Linked DNA regions of Homo sapiens: all the other regions are linked to region 1. The links are contacts of gene promoters, found by promoter capture Hi-C in blood cells and fetal thymus (Javierre and others, 2016). All regions are on one chromosome and are shown on one strand. Each heading gives the region's core, a stretch centred on a gene start or on the middle of the fragment in contact. The rest is flanking DNA. Distances are from core to core; before and after follow the strand shown.

What was found. Contacts are between HindIII fragments. The CHiCAGO score rates a contact against its expected background, and 5 or more counts as called.
Region 2: a contact is called between a fragment that was not itself captured here and the fragment with the promoter of FAM161A in region 1, in 1 of 17 cell types (total CD8 T cells). The highest score is 5.6, in total CD8 T cells.
Region 3: a fragment that was not itself captured here is called in contact with the fragment with the promoter of FAM161A in region 1 in 3 of 17 cell types (neutrophils, non-activated CD4 T cells and total CD8 T cells); the score reaches 6.3 in neutrophils.
Region 4: a fragment that was not itself captured here is called in contact with the fragment with the promoter of FAM161A in region 1 in 1 of 17 cell types (naive CD4 T cells); the score reaches 5.9 in naive CD4 T cells.

What each region holds. Positions count from the first base shown.
Region 1 is chr2:61,852,785-61,855,358 of GRCh38, forward strand. FAM161A (FAM161 centrosomal protein A) reads right to left here and starts at 1,276. Exons shown (of 7, transcript NM_001201543.2): 1 at 1,075-1,276. The coding sequence starts at 1,257. RefSeq lists enhancers at 760-889, 1,050-1,209, 1,450-1,679, 2,420-2,469. The HindIII fragment of the contact is 5,666 bases long and covers 850-2,574 here.
Region 2 is chr2:61,301,417-61,303,990 of GRCh38, forward strand. It overlaps USP34 (ubiquitin specific peptidase 34), which reads right to left. Exons shown (of 80, transcript NM_014709.4): 28 at 1-38. Among named protein-coding and RNA genes, the nearest start is that of SNORA70B, 110 kb to the right of the region's middle. The HindIII fragment of the contact is 1,719 bases long and covers 428-2,146 here.
Region 3 is chr2:62,405,635-62,408,208 of GRCh38, forward strand. No RefSeq gene overlaps it. Among named protein-coding and RNA genes, the nearest start is that of TMEM17, 99 kb to the right of the region's middle. RefSeq lists an enhancer at 2,474-2,523. The HindIII fragment of the contact is 8,957 bases long and covers 1-2,574 here.
Region 4 is chr2:61,331,417-61,333,990 of GRCh38, forward strand. It overlaps USP34 (ubiquitin specific peptidase 34), which reads right to left. Exons shown (of 80, transcript NM_014709.4): 19 at 2,466-2,555. Among named protein-coding and RNA genes, the nearest start is that of SNORA70B, 85 kb to the right of the region's middle. The HindIII fragment of the contact is 572 bases long and covers 1,006-1,577 here.

The DNA of each region.
Region 1 (2,574 bases), core at 26-2,525:
TTTTACTGTAGATTAAAGAGATCAGAATTCCAAAATATCCAGTGATTTCAGTTAGTCCTCAATCATAAGTTTGGTGTCTGAGAAGCTTTGGACACATGGTATTAGGAAATTTTTTCTATCTGCAGATTGCTAGTTTAAATTCAAGATTCCCATCTTTTTTTTTTTTTTTTTTTTTTGAGACTGGGTCTGAGATCTCAGCTCACTGCAACCCTCACCTCCCAAGTTCAAGCGATTCTCCTGCCTCAGCCTTCCGAGTAACTAGGATTACAGGGGCGCACCACCACGCCCGGCTAAATTTTGTATTTTTAGTACAGACGGGGTTTCACCATGTTGGTCAGGCTGGTCTCGAACTCCTGACCTCGTAACCCGCCCACCTCGGCCTCCCAAAGTGCTGGGATTATAGGCACGAGCCACCGCGCCCGGCCAAGATTCCCATCTTTTAAGTGAATTGAGCAGATGGCAGACCCTGCCCTCTACCTGCTGGACTGGTGTCCACAACAGATTTAACAATGAAAACTGATCAGTGAAAAGGCCGTCTCGCTGTACCCTAAAGAGCTGTTTAGGAAACACTGAAACCTCAGTGATTTGCTTATCTGTATCCGTGTCTGATTTAGCCAGTGAACACGTGATGGTTTTAAACACACATCTTTAGAGCACTATGTTGAGATCCGCTTATAACCAAGATCTTAAGGTAATAACGAAACACACCTGACAGAACAGTTTTCCTCAAATTACTATATATAGCCAGATATATCTCTATATATCCATTCCCGAGATGCTGGAGAGTAGAGAGTAAAATTCTATACTTTGCACTTGCCAGAAGCAGAGTAACATAAATGTTGTCTAGGAAGCTTTTACAACAGACTGGTGAAAATTAAAACACTTTTCAACGCCTCGATTTAGAGTAATTTTCGTGAGCGTAGAGAAGGGGCTGGGCCAGGACCACCAAGTAGGGACTATGTGCACAGGGACCCGCGTTTACCAGCCTGCCCTCAGCTGGGCGGGGAACCGGACAGCCCTCAGCCTGCACCCAGCCCATGCGAGGTCCCAGCCCAAGTCCCGCCCCAGTATTACCGATGCCCCAGCGGGCTGAGCCACTTTCTCCTCCTCTTCGTCCTCCAAGATCGCCTCCGCTGCCGCCAGGGCCTTTAAGGGGTCTTCGCGTTCGTACTGGGCGACCCGCGCTCCAGTGATGGGATTTACCGGGGTCTGGAGACTGGAGGCCACCAGCTTCGCCACTCGGTGGGAGGTGGCCATCGCCCCGCCTCCGAGGCCTGAGCGCCTGCGCTGGCCCGGGACGGGAAAGCTGGTGCGGCCCCTGGCAACCCGGGGGCGCCTAGCTAGGGAGCCGGTTGCTATGGGCGCCGTAACTGGGGACGCTACAGGAGCCGCCAGGGACCAAAAGTCACGCAAAATCCACTCAGGCTGCCAGAGACCCGAGTCGGGTGCTTACTGGATCATGGCAGTCAGTACCGAGTCTGTTGGCTGGTTCCGAAGGTTGGCAGGCTGAACAGGGCACTTATTCCACTCCTTTGCGTCTAACCGCCTGAACGCAGACTTCTCACATTATACAATGAAACAACTGCTTTTGTGAAGAAAAGAACGCTTTTTTATTAACTGCAATAACATGTTAGAAGGAGACAGTTGATGGAGGAGACGGCGGCGGCGGAGGAAAGCAGGGCGTGTTACTGGGTGGCGGTCTCAGAAGAGTGACAAGGTTGGCGTCCCGCTACCTAACATGTCTCCCGCGGGGGCCAGAGTGGGAAGGAGGGCGGTACATTCTACTCTGATTGACTTGAGGGCTAGCAGGAATCCACCAATCAGAAGGAGGCTCCCAGTTGTCCCTCTCGCTTTTTTCTTGACATGACCAATAAAAGCCCAGAGTTGGGTGGCGCCTGACCCTCCCACTAATGAGTGATAGTGCAGGTATTGTAAACCTGGCGTTTGCTTTGGGTTCTTCAGCTTGAGAGTGACAGGATTGAACGGCACAAGTGCCCAAGAGTCACCACAGACACATCCATCTCCCTCATCCGTATCTTCTCTTCCCACTCGGGATTTGGACGCATCAAATGGCGCCTTCCCTCTGCACCACGTGGCAGTAAGAGAAGCCAAACCTCAAAATAGCGGACGTGGTGCAGTCTCAGACATCTGCTCCCTGAGCCCCTGCTTACTGAGGCCGAGGCTGCCGCCCCCTATCTACTCCCTATCTACCCCCTCTCTATCCTTTGCCCTCCTCCTGCTCCCCAGCCCTACGACCGGCCCCCTCCGGTCAGTATTTTCCTCGTTATGCGCTGCACATCGTCGAGAACCCGTCTCTAAGGTCTGAGCCCTTACCAAACCTTTGTTCTCCTGTCTGGGTGTGAGCACCTACAAAGTCTCCTACGTCCCCACTTCCTTCAGGCTGCTCTTGGTTTTAGCTGAACAGTTGCTTCCCATGCTGGAACAGATGCTGACTGGGTTCTAAGCAGAAGCCAGAGCCAGAACCATGAGATATGCACCGCCAGGTGTGGCCAAGTTTCCAGGGGAGCAATTTCCAGTCAGACACGGCAGCCAGTTTTGTGGCTACAAAACTGC
Region 2 (2,574 bases), core at 37-2,536, 550 kb before region 1:
TCCAGATGAAATCATCCTGACAGGTCCCATGAGGCCTCCTTAAAAACAGCAAAACATGGAAATGAATTTGTTTTTAAGAATTAACTTACTTGCTGATAAGAATATGTAGTTGTAGCAATTAAACACACTGTATGTTAAGTTTAAATGTAATCTAAGGTAAAGACAGAAAACTCAGTAGATTGAGGATAGTTATTTCTAGAATGCATTAAGTCCTTTTAGCTGCCTACACCTTCAACTTCATTTCCCACCATCTTCCCTATCTCACACTATGTTCAGCCAACTGGCCTCCTTGCCCTTTCTTGAAAATAACAAGTATATTACCAACTCAAGGACTAAGATTTCTCTCCAGGAATTCAAGATACTTATTTTCTCACCTCTTTCAAGTCTCTCATCCAATGGGAGCTTTTTCCTTACCGCCCAATCTAAAAGCTTCACTTCACCATTAACCCTTTACTCTCCTTTATCTTTCTTTAAAGCACTTGTTAACACCTCATATTTGTTATCTGGGAAGGGATGGGAGGGTGAGGAGAAAAAAGAGAGGGAAGGAAAGGAAAAAGGAAAGAAAGAAAGAAAGAAAAAAAGGAAAGGGAAAAGGAAAGGAAGACTGACAAATTCCCAGTTCCACAAGGGCAGAGGTGTTTTATTCACACATGCATGCCAGGCACTAAAATGGAGAAGACATTCAAATTAAGTATTGTATAATGTACAACTTTTTCGGGAAAAAAAATGATTAGAGCAGGAAAATTAAGCAAAATTAAATGTCTGATGAATAATTTAAACTTTAAAAATATTGCTAAACTTCATTCAATATAGAAAAACTCCACTGAACAGACACTAAACAATTACTTTCAAGAAAAATGAGTGGGGTAAGGCTATCGCTTTTCATAATGACACATAACATTTTAAAATTACCTTTCCCTTCACATAATAAAAAAGGTTTGTGGAAAAATATTTCAAACACAGAAGGAATATGTTTTTCTTCCAAGACGAGTCATATTGGCAATTTGCCTTAAGCACAATTTTTTTATAAGTAAATTGCTAATCATTGTGTAGCTAAATCTATGATTCTTTCCCTTTCTCATTATTTCTAGCCCTCAATCTTGGCCCTCAAAATGGTTTGACAAACGTTCAATCCTATTTTCTTCTAAATTTTCCTACCATTGTTAACACAGATACAACATTTTAAACATATCCTAAATATTAGAAAAAGGGGTTTTTCTTTCCCCAAACTGAACAAGTCATATATGACTAATTTTCAGTATCCATTCTATATCATTTAACTAACAATTCCCATACCAAAATCAAATTATGGTTTAATGTTTATACAGCTAGTACGGAAGTTCAACTTTCTATTATCCTTTTGAATTTTTCTCCCAGGACTTTTTTGTTTTTTCTTTTTTCATAAAGTGCCAATTTACTGACCTCCCAGAACTTATAATATTGCTTAGTTTATTCATACAGATAACTTCACAGTAATTTCATCAAATTTTAAACAAAAATTACATTGGAATTACTGATAGAACATTTTAAAAAATAAATTTACCTAACATCTTTACAATATTCTGTACAGAGACATGCTATTTCAATTTACTCAGATGTTCGCTTATCTCCAAAAGTTTTATTCTCACATTTTACAAAGACCTCATATTATTGTAAGTTTTTTTTTTTGAGACGGAGTGTCACTCTGTCACCCAGGCTGGAGTGCAGTGGCTCAATCTCAGCTCACTGCAACCTCCGCCTCCTGGGTTCAAGCAATTCTCCAGTCTCGGCCTCCTGAATAGCTGGGACTACAGGCGTGCACCATCACACTTAACTAATTTTTGTATTTTTAGTAGAGACGGGTTTCTCCATGTTGGCCAGGCTGGTCTTGAACTCTTGACCTCCGGTGATCCGCCTGCCTCGGCCCCCCAAAGTGCTGGGATTACAGCCATGAGCCACCACGGCCCAGCCAGAATATCGTAACATCTTAAAATTGCTATTATATACTTGATTTAGTGTCCTATTCATCATGTTGCTCACAAATTATAACTGAATAATCTAATAGCGATACCATTTTATAGTGTATTTTACTTTATTCAAATCATTTTGTATTATACAAAACCAGAAGAAAAGTAAATGCTTATGAAGCAGCGTATTCATTAGGAAAAGCTTTGGCTACTGGATGGACAGAAATTCTGTATTAAACTTTTTTTTTTTTTGAGACAGAGTCTCGCTCTGTCGCCCACGCTGGAGTGCAGTGGCACAATCTCAGCTCACTGCAAGCTCCGCCTCCTGGGTTCACGCCATTCTCCTGCCTCAGCCTCCCAAGTAGCTGGGACTACAGGCGCCTGCCACCACGCCTGGCTCATTTTTTGTATTTTTAGTAGAGATGGGGTTTCACCATGTTAGCCAGGATGGTGTTATCTCCTGACCTCGTGATCTGCCCGCCTCGGCCTCCCAAAGTGCTGGGATTACAGTGTGAGCCATTAATACTTTGGTAGTTTTTTTGTTTTGTTTTGTTTTGAGGAGTCTCGCTCTGTCGCCCAGGCTGGAGTGCAATGGCATGATCTCGGCTCACTAACACCTCCACCTCCT
Region 3 (2,574 bases), core at 39-2,538, 550 kb after region 1:
AAACCCTCTGGGAATGTCATCCAGTATAACCTTTCTGGGAAGAAGTTTAGAAATAGTAAGAGAAACTAAATACAGACAGATCTTCCCACCCAGCAGTTCCATCCACTCCTAGATACTGAGCCCAGAGAAACTCTTACAAAACATGTAAGAGGATGTCCATTGCAGAATTGTTTGTAATAGGGACGATTTGAAAATACCTAGAAATTTACTAATAGGAAAATAGATAAAATGTGTTATATGCAAATGATGATAATAATTCAGCAGATAAAAGGAATGCTCTGGTCACATCCACTTGGATCAATCTCAAAAACATAACTTTGACTGGAAAAGGGTGAGAAGCAGAATGAGATGTATACCAAAGACCACTTACACATATTTTTATTTATTTTATTTATTTTATTTTATTTTTTTTTGAGACGGAGTCTCGCTCTGTCACCCAGGCTGGAGTGCAGTGGTGCGATCTTGGCTCACTGCAACCTCTGCCTCCCAGGTTCAAGCGATTCTCCTGCCTCAGCCTTCCGAGTAGCTGGGATTACAGACGTGTGTCACCACGCCTGGCTAATTTTTTGTATTTTTAGTAGGGACGGGGTTTCACCATTTTAGCCAGGATGGTCTCGATCTCCTGACCTCGTGATCTGCCCGCTTTGGCCTCCCAAAGTGCTGGGATTACAGGCATGAGCCACGGTGCCCGGCCCACATATTTTAAAAATATGCGCAAAATAACACCAATCTCAGACCTGCGTGCAAATCAAACTACAGATTGGGAGGGAAGACACACAAAAATCACGGGAATGGGTCCTGTGGTAAGAGGAGAAAAACGAGATTGGGGATGGGCTGAAGGGGGCCAAAAAATAAGGTTAACTAAAATACAATTGAGTCCAGCGCATACCAACAAAGACGCCATGCCTTGAACCAAGAAGTATGGCTAATTCATTTTGGGCACATGAAGTCTTTGCAAGCAGAAAAAAACTAAACCAAAACAATACATCAGTTAATGTTTAACAGAAGTGGAAACAGAACTCAAGGGAGTGGCTGTGGCTACCCAGAGGTCTAATATGCACCCAGAGGTGGCAGAGGTTGGTCACTGTGAGGTTTGGATAGTGAGGGCAGAGGGTGGCCTCAGGCAACTCCAGGGGAAATCAGGTGACCCGGAACCTTCAGTCCCTGGTGATTACTTCTAAAAGACTGATCTCATTCTGGGGTGACCCCATGTCATGGCCTTGAGTCACTTTACTCACAGAAATTCGGTCTTCCTGAGGCACTGCTGACTGCTTTCAGGGAACTTGATGGTCACAAGATTTTCCCACAAAGATTGTTACCATGGGGTGCTTTCCATCTGTTATTAACCTCAGGTTTCTCCAGCAAAGTCAGCATATCCTGGGAACACAGACTCCTCCCGTCCACTTTTGTTGCCTGCTTTCAGTAACCAAAAGCTGTTTCTCAAACGGCATGTTATAGAACTCAGACTAGGACTGTGCAGCTTATTTTTCACATGGCGGGGACGGGGGAAGTGGTTCTAGCTAACAGCTCTGGTAATGCTTGAAGTCCCACTCTTGGGGAATGAAGGGGAGAAAGATAGATGATGAGTTATTTTCTGTCTCCTGAATCCATCCTTCTCTTCCTTCCTCTTCTCCCTCCTTTCCTTCTCAAACATATATTTACTGCTGAGTACACAACAGGCACTGTGCTAGGCACCATGTGATTTGAGTCTGACATTATCACCTGCCCTCAAGGAGGTTAAAATCTAGTGGGGAGGAAGCAATGATATCAAGCATGATGGAAGCGTAAGGATGCTTTGAGACACGGAGGCAGACAGCTGCATCTGATGGGAAGGTGTCAGAGACAGCTTGGAGGTGGAGCACCTTGAGCTGAGTCTGGAGGAACATAATGGAGTCAAGAAGAATGGGAGGAACCGGGAGAGGTATTCCTGCTGGAGAGGACAGCGTGGGCACTGGCTGGGAGCATGAAACAGCGTGAATCACTGGGAGGCTGACTGTAGTTCATCATGTCTAGGTTTGGTGCTCAGGACTGAACTCAGGCCCTATCTTCTCCCTGAAGCCTGCAGCAGGTGCCCCACCCCATCAAGTTCCAGCCCCCACCGCCCCCCAGCTCCACCTACTGACAGTCGCTTGTTTCCCTTCTGTTCTTTCTCTTAGGAATTTTTTTGGTGTGAAGTCTTCCTTTCCCAGTCTTAGAGAGGGTCCCAAGAGGCCAATGCTTCTCCCACCCAGTGCTCAGAGCTCTTATTCCACCATGGGGATGTCTTGCCCGATTCTGAGTGGGTACAGTGTTCACCGAGGAGGCAGGCTGAGGCAGTTGGTAGCAGCACTGAATCCCACCCCAGCCCATTGGGTTTTCAGTCTGAGGGGCTTCTCCAGTGTGTGCCTGAGCCTGGCTGACACCTGGGCCAGTACGCAGGTGAACATTCTTCTGGGAGGGGAACTGAAAGCCTGTTGTAGCCAGTTTCTCAGTGATCCTGATCTCCTGGTTTTCAGGCCCTTGAATGGTCTCCTGCCACATTGCATCAGGGTCGGTCTGCATGGCCCACAAGTACAGCAGAAGTGATGGCATATG
Region 4 (2,574 bases), core at 42-2,541, 520 kb before region 1:
GAGAATAAATCTATGCTATGACAGTAAATATGCAAATCTAAAAAAAATCTTCAAATGTAAAATTTTAGTTACGAAAAATATACACGTTTTATTTATATTTGAATGGTGAAAAGATATAAAGCAATGTTCCTTCATTTTTATGAATTTAAAGTACCTTTGTAAGTTTTTAATCTCAAAATGCCTGTGAAAGTACTATTATCAATGACTAATTTGAGTTAATATTAAAAGTAATATGATACCCTTTCATATAAGAATATACTATGTGCTTTGGTCATTACTTAGCACAATATCTGGCATACAGAAGGCATACAATAAACTTACTGCATATATCTTTTGTCATTAATTTGCTTATATTTTTGAACAAAATTTTTTTTAAAAAAATCAAAGAAATACCCAGCACTGAGTTCCAAAATAATGTAGAAATACTACAATGAAAACACAAATAGTGGCATATACATTCAGAGATCCCAGGGTCCATAACTTCCATAATTAACATAATGTATTTCATATAACACCTATTAGCAATTTATCTGCTAAAATGTACAGATGTAGAAGTATTAAAATTCTCTAAGTTCCATGTAATTTACATCGTGTTTCTGTTATAGCCATATTTTAAACAGAAGTTACTTTCACCTTGCTATTCACTAAATAAAGGTCAAGTGGTAGAAAGAAAAAGACTTTGGGTTTGAAGGCAGCTCCAATACACTTGCTACAACACAGCTTCAGGCAAGTAAGCTGTCTTGTGGAAGTCTGTTTGCTTGAAGGTTTATTAGAAGAATCAAGGGTAAGTTTCCAATTTTAAACTATGGGCCATTAGAACGAGTTTAAGAGATAATATGTACTAAATATTAAGTGCTGCTATACATACTAGACTCACAATAAATGACAGCTTTTGTTGTTACTGATGTCAAATAACCACAGGAGTTCTTTTAAGTGATGTAGTTTATGAGATTTAGGATACCAATCTCTTGTGGTAATGGAAACCCTGTGAATTTTCCTTAATTAAGCTTATTTACATTTAATTTAAGGAACAAGCTAAAAGAGTTTCAACTCAATATATTTAGGTTCGGGTACTTGATTAAGTAACTGAATATTCAGAGACTGCCCCTTCTATACAAGAAAGTTACTCCTTAATATGAACCACCTCCACTGACTATAATGACACCTGCTCGCCCGTGTTAGCACCAAATGACTGCCTTTACTGCATTAGAATTTTGAAATTCAGCCACTTAAAAATTATAGAAAGAGGCAATGAAAAATGGCTCACACTATTCTTGTTCTTCAGTGATGTTAAATGCTTTCCCTTACCCCTCCTTTTGGAAGCTGAAGGACCTTCCTTGCAAAAACAGAACCTTCACTGGATTCTTACTGTAGTATTAACCAAAGAAAGAGACTAAGATACTTCTAAATAATAATAAAGGTCCAGATTAAACATATTCCCTTTAAAAGAACAATTAGAAGCAAGGTATATGACTCAGAAGAATTAACTTCATCTAATCTGGAATTATAGTGCAGACTTCCAAGAACTATAAAAGTGATACTCCACTGTGAAAGCAAGCAAGTGTTCTTACCACCTAAGCTTAGAATTGAGAACTTGATCTCACAAATGAATCCTTCAACAAGTCGAATTTTCCCTAAAATTCAAATGTCTCCGAAATCTCTCCAAAAGCTTATTTAGAATAAAGCATACAACACATCTTCTTAATGTATTGTTTGTGGTAGACAACTTTCTCTAGACTTATTACCAAAACATGGGGTCGATTTCACATAAAAGTTCTACCTCTGGAAGAATTATTGTAACATTCATTAATCATAAGTTCTCCATAAATGGAGTAACTAGTTGAATATCCCTTATCCAAAATGCTGGAGACCAGAAGTGTTTCAAATTTTTTCAGATTCCGTAATATTCGCAGAATGCATAGCAGTTGAACATAACTAATCCAAAAATCCAAATTCCAAAATGCTCCAATGAATATTTCCTTTGAGTGTCCTACTGATGCTCCAAAAATGTTGGATTATGGAGCATTTCAGATTTTAGATTTTTCAGATTAGGCATACTCAACCTGTAATAAGGTAGTGTCAAGATTACCCCAAACATGACATTAGGTCTACAGCCAATTCCTAGAAATGGGAAAAATTAAAGGCATGCCAGAGTTTACTTTAGTGTGGCTCTTCTTCAAAAGTACTCTGCTGTAGCTGCATACGCTAAAAATCTCCCTAAAATTAGAGTATTAATTGCTAAAGTACTGTTCTCAAACTCCAAAGAAAACAAAACACAGATTTTCCTACTGATCAGGATATAATCTCTACAGGGGTAAGTGGCAGAAAAATCTAAGAAAACAAACCACATGAAACTCAAATTTTCCTGGTACAGAGTAAAAGCTTGTAGGTTAGTCAAAACCTTTAGATAACTATAATTAGAAAAAAATCTTTAAAATAAATACTTTTTTCTTTTATTTACTTACATTGTTATCCAGTGTGTATCGTAACTGCTCCCAAACTGCTGAAAAGTACCAAATAGTTTTGGAAGAAGACGAAGTGAAATTACTACTGATCTGAAACAGCAGAAACATT